Regions from separate parts of the Homo sapiens genome. Here region 1 is linked to region 2. The links are contacts of gene promoters, found by promoter capture Hi-C in human tissues and cell types (Jung and others, 2019). All regions are on one chromosome and are shown on one strand. The core of a region is centred on a gene start or on the middle of the fragment in contact, and the rest is flanking DNA. Distances in the headings are between cores, read along the strand shown.

Region 1 (5,113 bases), core at 461-2,960, 220 kb before region 2:
AGAAGTCGCCTAATTTTAGTATTACCAGCTTCCCAACCCCGGGCATTCTTCATCTTACTCAAGCTGTCCAGAGGCCCCAGGGTGACTCCCTATAAGTCCCATGGGTGGCTGAGATCTATTTAGAGGCACAAGGGTATCTCCTTATAAGTCCCATGGGTGGCTGAGATCTATGAGAAGCATCTTGGGGAGAGTGCCTCTGGCCACCAGCATGTGGCCCTGAATCTTCCATGTGCAACTGGCCAGGGAAGGAGATATATGGAAATAGTCATCCTGCACATCTGCAAAATCAGATGCAAATCCTGGAAGCTCTCCTAGAAAAGAGACAGCCTCATCTGATTAAAGGGGCAAGTGAGTTTGATGAATTATTGGCAAGAGACAGCATGTCTGAACAGGATCGGTCATCCTAAACTGCTTTCCTTTGTCCCCTGGAATTATAATGACTGTGGATTTCTGAGTCCTAGATGGTATGGAAACAGTTATGGGAATGAACAGTCTTGCATGAATAAGAGCAGATAACATGGAGGATGTTAATTTGTTCTGCTGAATTTAGGTGGCTTTCAAGCCTCTCCTTCAATGCTCACCTGTCTCTAGGATGCTCTGTGCAATGATCAGGACTTTTTTTCTTCAGATTCTCTAAAACTTACAATATTCACATAGACCTGCACATTTCTACACAAACTGACTCTCCTGCTTGCAATGTCATTTTGCTTATATAACTATTAGCCTCCTAAAGAGCTAAACTTAGCTACAATTTTATGTCCTTTGTGAAGTTTTCCAGAATTTTTGCAGTATATTACAGGAAGGAAAAATCTGCCTCAAGTCTCTACTAATTCTACTTGACTAGTGGTGATTGCCTGAGACATTTCTCTATTAATGAGGATTCTGAAGCTGTATAAAGCCCCTACAGAATCAGCATCTGAATAGGCACAGCATAGGGTTCAAGTTTCATGGTTTTGCCATCCAAGCATGTTTAGCATTTTAAATATTAATATTTATTACATACTTGTAGTTTATGATTTGAAATTTTTTAACTAAGTCTTCCTCTTGGGTAAGTTGTAATGAAAATAATCTTGTAAGCTTAAGGAGCGGAAAATAATACCTGTTGAAAATTAGAGCTTGTAATAGGGCTTTATAAACACCATCTCATTTAATACACATAACAATTCAATGAGGCAAGTTTTATAGGTGGGGAAAAACTTGAAACTTAGTAAAATTAAATAACTAGGTCAAGTTCATAACAACTAGCAAATTTTTAGACTACAAAAATCAAGTGCTTTGACTAAATCATGCTATGACTGTGCCCAACACCATCTCGAGTACATTTTATTTTTCTTTTTAATCCTCAAAATGACTCACTGTGTCCAGCAAATAATAGCTGCTTAATACATAGGTGATCCTTAAAGTTCAGTAGGGACCCCTGGGCATTATTCCATATGTTCTTGATCACTCTGTGTCTACATCTCAGATTTTCCACTTCAGATTAAATGATACTAGAAATATGCACGTGTCTGGATTGATCTAGGTTAAATGATGCCCGGAATGGAGTATTTTAAGACATCTTGTGCCCCCTTGTGGAGGGGAAGGGACATTAGAAAGAAAATCTTTTTAAGAACAAGGACTAGGGAGGGATGGGGATGAGGAAGGAAGCTCAGTTGCCAAGGTAACCATCGAACCTCTTCCCAGCCATCCACATCAGCCTTTTCCTCTCCTTCATTTCCATCCAAGTGATTTCTCTTTTTTAGAGCTCAACCATTACACACACGGTCCTCTTCTTGCGTATCTCTTGGATCACCATCTGTCTGTCTTTGCTACAAAGGAAGGGCTACAAGATAGTACAACAGGACATTTTTTAAAACCTCAAACATCACCAAAATTTCTAAGTGCAAGCTTATTTTTATTTTTTTTTTTTTTGAGACAGAGTCTCGCTCTGTCACCCAGGCTAGAGTGCAGTGGCATGATCTTGGCTCACTGCAACCTCCACCTCCCAGGTTCAAGTGATTCTCTTGCCTCAGCCTCCCAAGTAGCTAGTATTACAGACGCCTGCCACCACGCCCGGTTAATTTTTGTACTTTTAGTAGAGACAGGTTTCACCATATTGGCCAGGCTGGTCTCAAACTCCTGACCTCAGGTGATCCTCCTGCCTCAGCCTCCCAAAGTGCTGGGATTACAGGCATGAGCTACCACGTCTGGCCTAAGTGCATGTTACCTATACTAACAAAACCACACTTCTGCCTCGAATGAGAACAGTCTCCTGAACATCTTGCCTCTTTGCCTGACTCAAAGCCTCAGGTCTAAGCCTCCCCATAATTTCTAGTCTCAGCAGAAAGATCAATGACAGGAGACTCTCCAGGTGATGAAATTAACCAATTAAGTAACCTGGGTTGGCATCCTCCCGTTTGTTCACCAGCTCACCTCCTGCCACAGGTATATCCTTTCTCTCAGCCATATATGCACAAACCCCCTCCCCACGGCACACATAGAAGAATTTGGAAGACTAGAAAATCAGGCAAGGTATAGCACACCTTGAGGGCTGGAGTATGGTAGCCTGGGCCGGGACATCCATACATTGAGAACTTGACTATGTGCAGGCAAATCACAGGTTCTGCACACATACAATTTTTTGTTCTCCCTGAGAACTTAGTAGAGTCTTTTGTAGAATTCTCGCTTTATTCCATTGCTTTCACATTGGCCAGCAGTCAGAAACCTACTTACAAATATCCTCCACCCAGTCCCTAAGTGAAGGCCCCTGGGGAGTATGGTTAGGGCTCAGGAGAGGGTGGGGTTTTTGCACAGATGTCTGCCCCACCCAGCTCAGTGTGACACTCCAGGCACAGAGATAGAAGCCAGAGTCACTGAGAAGGAGCTTCTTAGAACTCAGGATGAACTGCCGGTCCTGGGGTCTGGAGGCTGAGAGATTCTGGGGCACCTCAGAGCTGATCTGGCCAATACCAACGGAGTAGAAGAGCAGCTGGAGGCCCCTGCCTGCAGCCTGTCGGTACCAGTATAGGTTGGGGTTTGATGTTCCCTCCACAGTGCACTCCAGAGAGAGCGGGCTGCCCACAGGCTGCACCAGGGTCGCTGGCCATTGATGAATAGTCTGAGATCTGACCCCTGTGGGAAAGATAAAGTGCCATTTACAGAGGAGCACCCCAGCCTGGCTTGCCTTCCCCAGACAGAGGGGCAGCTCAAGCTCTTGCATGACACAGGCACCTGGAATCCATCATGGGGAGTAGACTGGGGGAGCCAAGGATGCAAAGCATCCCTGGGCCAGGGAAGACCAACAGAACGAACTCCTTCTCAGGAGATAGAGAGAACTAAGAATCATCAGATCAGCCCCTAAGGCTAAATTCCCATATCTGTTCCAGACAATCAGGAATAGACTCAAGAGTGTCAAACCAACAGCTCAGACTCTGCATTCACGGGATTGGGGTGAGGGTGAGGATGAGAAAAGAGGCTTGCCAGAGAGGAGGGCACCCACCAAAGAAAGTGCCCAGGAGAAGGGCAAGGAGAGAGCAGAGCATCATCCAAGCCAGCCTTTCCTTCAGCTAGTCTGGGGGACAGACGCCTCCTCTTCTGGGCCAGTGATGTGGTCAGGCTGCTCCCTCTGGGAGATCTGCTGCCAGAGCAGAGGAATCCTACCCCATGAGCTGGGGAGGAAATGAGGCTAGTCTTCTTTTAAGAGTGTGGTGAATCACCCCCAGCCTCCCTGGGAACCAGCTATACTCTGCACTTGTTATCTTCTTTGCATTCCTGCTGACATCCTGGTATGTAAATATATTTAATGACTCATTATTTACCTGTAAACTAAAGGTAACTCTCCAGCTCCCCCGGGAGACATCAGAAGCCTGGGAAAGCTTCAGAGAAACTGTGATACTGATAGAAGGATGAAAAAAGATTTTAGTTTATCTGAAATTGGAAACTAGAGCTAGACATGTTACCTGGGAGATGAAAGGATAGGGCTCAAGAGATTCAGGTATTTTGGGGTAATCAAAGCAGAAATGCTCAGTTCTGAGGGCAGGAAGCTTCTATGACAGCCAAAGGGATCGCCTGCATAATCTTCATCCCTGGCAGACAGATTTTGAGACCTGGACAGGCATAATTAACTCCTGAACTGATCAAAGTTGGAATCTGCTCCATGTGTCTCTAATGGGCCAACTAGATCTAATTTATCCTCTAAATGCAATATGAGTAATAGGAAACATCACAGAGACTTGGAATCATATGGATTTGGGTTCATTTCACAGCTCTGCTTCTTGCTGGCTTGGGAACTCTCAAGCAAACCCTGATTCTCAATTTTCTTATCTATAAAGTGAAAATAATGATGACAATATCTAAAAATTGTTGAAAGATGCATTTTGCCTGGTGCACTGCAGGCAGGCACTCTTACATATGTTGGCTTTTTTTTTTTTTTTTTTTTTTTTTTTTTTTTGACTCCCTATGTCTGCAGCAAAGATTGGGAGATTTACAATGGCATGGGGTGGAAGGTAGGGGCTGAAGGGATCACGAGCCACAAAAAACACAGTCAAGCCACGAATTCATAATAGTAAGGATTCATAATAGCTAAGCATGGGACTCTGCTAGGTAGCTGCTAAAATGTCATTCTGCTGAAATGGGACAAAAGACCTTCAGATGCCTGGAGGACACCAGCACACCCTTGGAAACTCCTCTTCCCTCTGTCTTTGCCATGCTCTGTATTCTGAAGGATTCATATTCAGAACAATTACTTAGTTTGGGTTGGATGTGGTGGAGCGGTTTGAGATGAAAACCCAGGAAAGAAAGCCGTAAAAGTGGCTGAACAGGGAGAATAAGCTTTAAGCAAATAAAGCATTTGTAACACTTTCCCATTTCATCAGGGCCTAGTGATGTCATATGTTTGTTGTTGTTGCTGATGCTACAGTAACACAATTCCAAGTTAATGTTGGGGTTCTTGCTTCTGACAGTTTTGGCTGTAGCACATTTTTTTGTTTGCATTTGAATACACCATATGTATAGGGGAATGTTTTGTTTTTTATCATTTCAAAATGGAATTAATCCTCTTATAACATTTATTTAAATGATAAATCAAGTGGTAAATATAGTTTGCTTGCAGTGAACATTTGGAACATATGATGAA
Region 2 (5,221 bases), core at 579-3,078:
CATGATGGTACTGAGACTGTTGGATTTGAGAGACGGAGAATCAAAAGACATTATAAAGTTTGAAGTCTAGATCTGGATACAGTCTGAACAGACATAGTTGTGTTTAACAGCCATAAAATACAGGATGCTCTCTAGAATTAGTCATTTAGTTCTTATTTGCCCCTGTCCCTATACTCACCACAAAGAAGGGCAGTGAAAGGAATATGCTGAAGCTTAACAAAAATAAATTTTCCTCCATTTTTATCCTCAAATATTTTTATCTTCTTTACACCACAAATATCTCCTGAATGAGAAGCATTCCAATCCTCATATCGCCATTCTAGACTGGTTCTGTGACAAAACGTAAACAGTGTTACACTTCCTTTCCAGTATCAATGGGGCAGAGAGAAAGAGCTTTAGGATATCTAAAATGCATATGGCCATCTTGCCAAAAAATTGCACAAAAATATAGGGAAGAACTTAGCAACAGGTGATGAAGGACCAAAGTGAGCATCTCTACCTTTCTACTCTGATTAGGACACCTTTCTCAGTACACCTCCCTCCACACTTCCTCCCTTCCCCAGAAAATACATTTTCAGAGATGGACTATGAGGAAATGAGTTGGGCTAATAGAATTCTTACAAAAATGTCTGCATTTCCTTTCTCTAGTCCCCCCCAAATCACAAGAATATGTTCAACAGTGGAAACAGGCAGGAACTAAGGCTATGAGAGTCTCCTGGACAGACAATGGATTTCATTATTACCAGCCTAATCTACTTCCATGGTGTGATGGCGAATTGTACACACTCTTTGACTTTTGTAATGAGAGGATAAGAGAAAAGAGGAGTTAGAATTTTCTAGGTGACTTAATAATTAACCCTGAGGCTTGGACCACCTAAAACTGACTTACAGAACAGCTAATCTTTCAGGAGTTGACAGCAGCGTTTCATCCCATCTCGGAGGGCCTCTTTGACTTTGTCATTCCGAAGAGTAAAGATGAAAGGATTCAGGAAGGGGGTTAACACAGAAACCAACAGGGAAACTATCTTATTGTACTCAACTCCCTGTGTTTGCTTGGGTTTCACGTAGAGAAACAAGCAGCTGCCATAGCCAATCACAACACAGGTGAAGTGGGAGGCAAAAGTGGAGAAGGCTTTCCTCCGGCCAGAGGCTGACGGGATCTTGAGGATGGTGGAGATAATGTAGGTGTAGGAGACAATCGTAGGGATCAAAGAACCAATGAGAATAAAAACAGCCATTAAGAAAAGGATAAACTCTGTGAGAAGAGTGTTATCGCAGGACAGTTTGAGCAATTGCCCTCGGTCACAGTAAAAATGGTCTAATGAATTTGATTTGCGGAAGGTAAACTGAAATGTGGCATAGATGGGCCAGATTTCAGAAAGAAATCCAAACACCCATGACACTATTACCACCCAAATACAGGTACTGCTGTTCATAATGATGTTGTACCTCAAAGGGTTACACACAGCCACATAACGGTCCACAGCCATCACTCCAAGTAATGCAAACTCCATGGTCCCACAGGAAAAGTTGAGCGATACATGTAGAGAAAGATACTGTCTGCATCCCAGGAAGAGCAATCCCCAAAGCATCATGGGGACAATTATGGTTGTGACCAGGATCTCCAGGGTAGAGAGGTGGCTGAGGAAGAAATACATGGGGGACTGCAGACGTTTATCCACACAGACAATCACAATGATGACCGTGTTTCCCATTAATGTCACTAAATAGAAGAAAAAGAATATAGCAAAAAGAATGTGGTGTAGTCCTTGGGACCCAGGGAAGCCTAGAAGGTGGAATTCAGTGGCACTAGAGTGGTTGTCCATCATTTAGTCCTTGATTCTGCTTGTTTTGAAGCCCAGAGATTAAAAGAGAGGTGGCATTGCTCCACATGGTCCTGCTCTCAAGAGAGAAGGAAGAAAAATTAGGTTAAGAAACTATTTCCAACCTGAGAATCAGGTGACATGTCCCTGCTACTGTGGTCGGCACATACATAGCTTGAGGTACATGTTGTCATCCCAAGTCTACAAGTGAGGCTCTCACTTCCCTGTGTAACCAGCCCCCTAGAATGGGTGAAGACATCTTCTTCTACTGGTGGTGAAATACCTTCCTTGCCTTTTTCCCCATTAAATATACCTTCTCTCGGGGGCAGAGGCTAAGACCTTTTAAATAGGCCAGTTTTAAAGGTGAGTCAATCAGGTCCCTCCGGTCCTGGAGTTACTTTCTCTTAGGTTAACTGTGCAAGATGACACAAAGGCATTTTATATGATGTTCAAAGGACAGAATTTTAAACCCCAGCTCTCATCTGTAATGGTAATGCATAGACCCACCTTTGGGGCCAGCAGAAAGGAGGCAGAGGATGTAAGACTAACATCTCTGCTGTTCCAGATTTTAAAATCTCCATTTTACAGAACAGCAAGATCTCTAAATGAGAACTCTAGAGCTTGGGATAATTTCCCAGAACAGATCCATTCTTCTCTAATTCCATTTTCCTTCCAAAGTTGTGGGAGGAAGGAAAGATGGCACCTGGCACAGAAAAGGAATAGATCTGGGACCGCCAGCTGTTAAGGATGCCTGGCTCTCTGCCTGTCGCTTCATTCCATTATTCAAATGTCACCCTTTCCAAAGACTCTTTCCAATCACTCTGCCCAAAACAGAAAAGACACACTTATTATTGGACTTCCATTTTTTTAATAACAGTTGTTATTACCTTGTATTATGTCTAATTATTTACTTCATTCCTTTATTTAACAATAAACAAATGTAGTCATGAACAGAACAAAGAAAATTCCATGCCCTGTGGAGCTTATATTCAAGGAAGAGGTGGGGGCTAGACCACACACAAGACACCTAAGTAAAATATGCAATAGTTTAGTTTGCTTATCATGTCACAGGGAAAAAAATAAGCAAGAAAGAAGGAGAGGAAATTTAAGTGTATTTATTATTTATCAACGGCATTAGAATATAAACTCCATGAGGGCTAGGACATGTCTTCACTGTTGTATTCTGAGGCTGGCACATAAAATGTACATACATAAATTAAGTAGTTATATATTTTATATATATATATCATATATCTTTTATATAGATATAGACAGATACATTATGTGAAATGAATATATCATAGATATATCTTATATATTAAATTATGTATTAATTTATCACAAGGTAACCGAACTAATAGCTGTGTGAGTCAAGATTTGAACCTAGGTCTGTCAGATTTCATCACTCACACAGCTAACTACCACACCTTATATTATATTATTATCTTATATTATTTATCTTATTTATATAAGATATATGAAATAAGATATATGAAATATATCTTATATTATATAAAATATACATATATTTTTTATTTATAAGATATTTAAATACATAAGATATATGTATCATATACATAAAATAAGTAGTGCTGACAAATTTTGCTAGATGAGGTATGGATGGATGGATGGATAATATATGATTAAATAATACTTGTTCTGGCCAGGGCCTGGGCCACATTCCCTCAATCCTATTCTGGTTGGTTTTCCTTCCTGCCTCACATTACCATTTTCCCTCCTGCCCTTCCCTTGCTTAGGTAACCCCTTCCCTGTCTACGTCACTGTTTTACTAATGGTTTAAAAAGCTTCAGGGACAGAATTGATGGGAAAGCTCAGTGTTCTGGTTTTCCACAACCTCTGCATAACCAGCACGAGATGAAGAAACATGAGCGAGAAGGACACCGACTGTCAGGGAGCCGTGACTGTGTTAGCATTGGGTCCAAGAGGAGCCGGAAGTGCTCTCTGCTATGCAGGAAGGGTCTGGAGATGAGCCTATACACTCTACTGCTCCCCTAGCCCACACTTCAATATCTGGGTGACTTTGTTCTAGAAGATAGGCAGGCCCAGGATGTCCCATCCTAAAATGCTTTTACCCTCTTCTTCATAGAGGAGACCCCTTGGAAAGACACTCACCTTTACAGAGGGGCTTCGCCGCCTCTTCTGATGTTCTCTAGGGCTCCGCTGAGGCTACCTCCTGTCCTGCTAGTGCTGAGCCATGCACAGGGGCCAGAACAAGTTGCTGCAATCCCCACTCATGGCGAAGAAGGGAAATGTCCTCCCAGAGGAGCTTAGGAAAAAGCCCAGAAATGAGTGTTGGGCAAAGTTGAGGGTCCTCTCTCTCTCCCCTCTCCTCCCTCTTCCCTTCTTCCCAAGGGTACTTAATCACCGAGTTACTACTTCTTAATTAGCCCACGTTCAGGGAGTCCCCAGGCAATCAGTCTAGTGGGAGCAGAACAAACTTTAAGTTATTCCCATTTTTTGACCAATTAAGTTTTAGAACTTTTGAAAGTTTTTGTTTGACGGGAAAACCTGAAATCTTACCAATCAGGGACTTCTTAATACTGGGGCTGCCTTCCTGAAAACCTCAGGTCTAGGTTTCCAGATGTCTCAGATTCTAAACAGTCAACTACCTCTGTCGTTTATCTTAGGCTTTTCTCAAGTTTCTCTAGTTATTCGGAGCCTAAATCAACCCTTTTCCCCCAGTAGGAGACACCACAATTGGCCTCTAAAACATGCACCAATATCCCAAAAAAGTCTGCATATTGGTCTTGGTCAAAGCCTTAACTTCACCAAATATCTTCTAAAAAGCCTGATGACTCCTTCATTCATTTTAAAAAGGCTCCTGCGTTTAGTCCTGTGGACCCTACAGAATACTGTAAGAGGTCCCTCCCCTAAATCGAACTCTATTCTGTTCTATTGTCTCAGGTTTTCACTCCTCTTGATATATGTGCATCTGTATGCATTCCAGCAAGATTCTTCCAGACTTTTTTTTTTCCTATGGCATGTCCCTGATTACCAGCTGGACCACTGCAAAGTAGAGAGAGCATAAGGACAGCTTATGTACACAGTTCTGTTTGCAACCTGGAGGAACTGACAAAATGTAAGTTGGAAATCTGTCTAATGCTGGAGTAAGACAGAAAAAGTAGGAATTACAAAACATTTGTCTGCATTTTTGTTTTCATTTTAAGTATTTTAAGTACACCTGTTAAATCTGAGAATTTCAATTGGTGCCTAAGGGTATAAATTGGGATTAATCTTTCTTCCAATTCCTTAAATTGCCCAAGCCCAAATACTTGCCATATAATTTTAGAGAAATTTTCCAAGCATGTATCTCCATATTCTTTTTCGTAAAGGCTGTGAAAATCTGTTTGCAACCTTTTCTTTCTCATTTAACAACA

Evidence for each region. The method cuts DNA at HindIII sites, captures the fragments that hold promoters and counts their contacts. A contact is called where the count stands out against the background at its distance.
Region 1: a contact is called between a fragment that was not itself captured here and the fragment with the promoter of OR9A2 in region 2, in 2 of the 25 tissues and cell types used here (liver and thymus).

What each region holds. Positions count from the first base shown.
Region 1 is chr7:142,809,767-142,814,879 of GRCh38, forward strand. It overlaps LOC105375541 (a long non-coding RNA gene), which reads left to right and starts at 4,431. Exons shown (of 2, transcript XR_001745392.2): 1 at 4,431-5,113. It also overlaps TRB and TRBV30. The HindIII fragment of the contact is 4,455 bases long and covers 1-3,938 here.
Region 2 is chr7:143,025,304-143,030,524 of GRCh38, forward strand. It overlaps OR9A2 (olfactory receptor family 9 subfamily A member 2), which reads right to left and starts at 1,829. Exons shown (of 1, transcript NM_001001658.1): 1 at 897-1,829. The coding sequence starts at 1,829. The coding sequence ends at 897. It overlaps LOC105375544 (a long non-coding RNA gene), which reads right to left. Exons shown (of 2, transcript XR_001745395.1): 2 at 3,957-5,221. The HindIII fragment of the contact is 7,003 bases long and covers 1-5,221 here.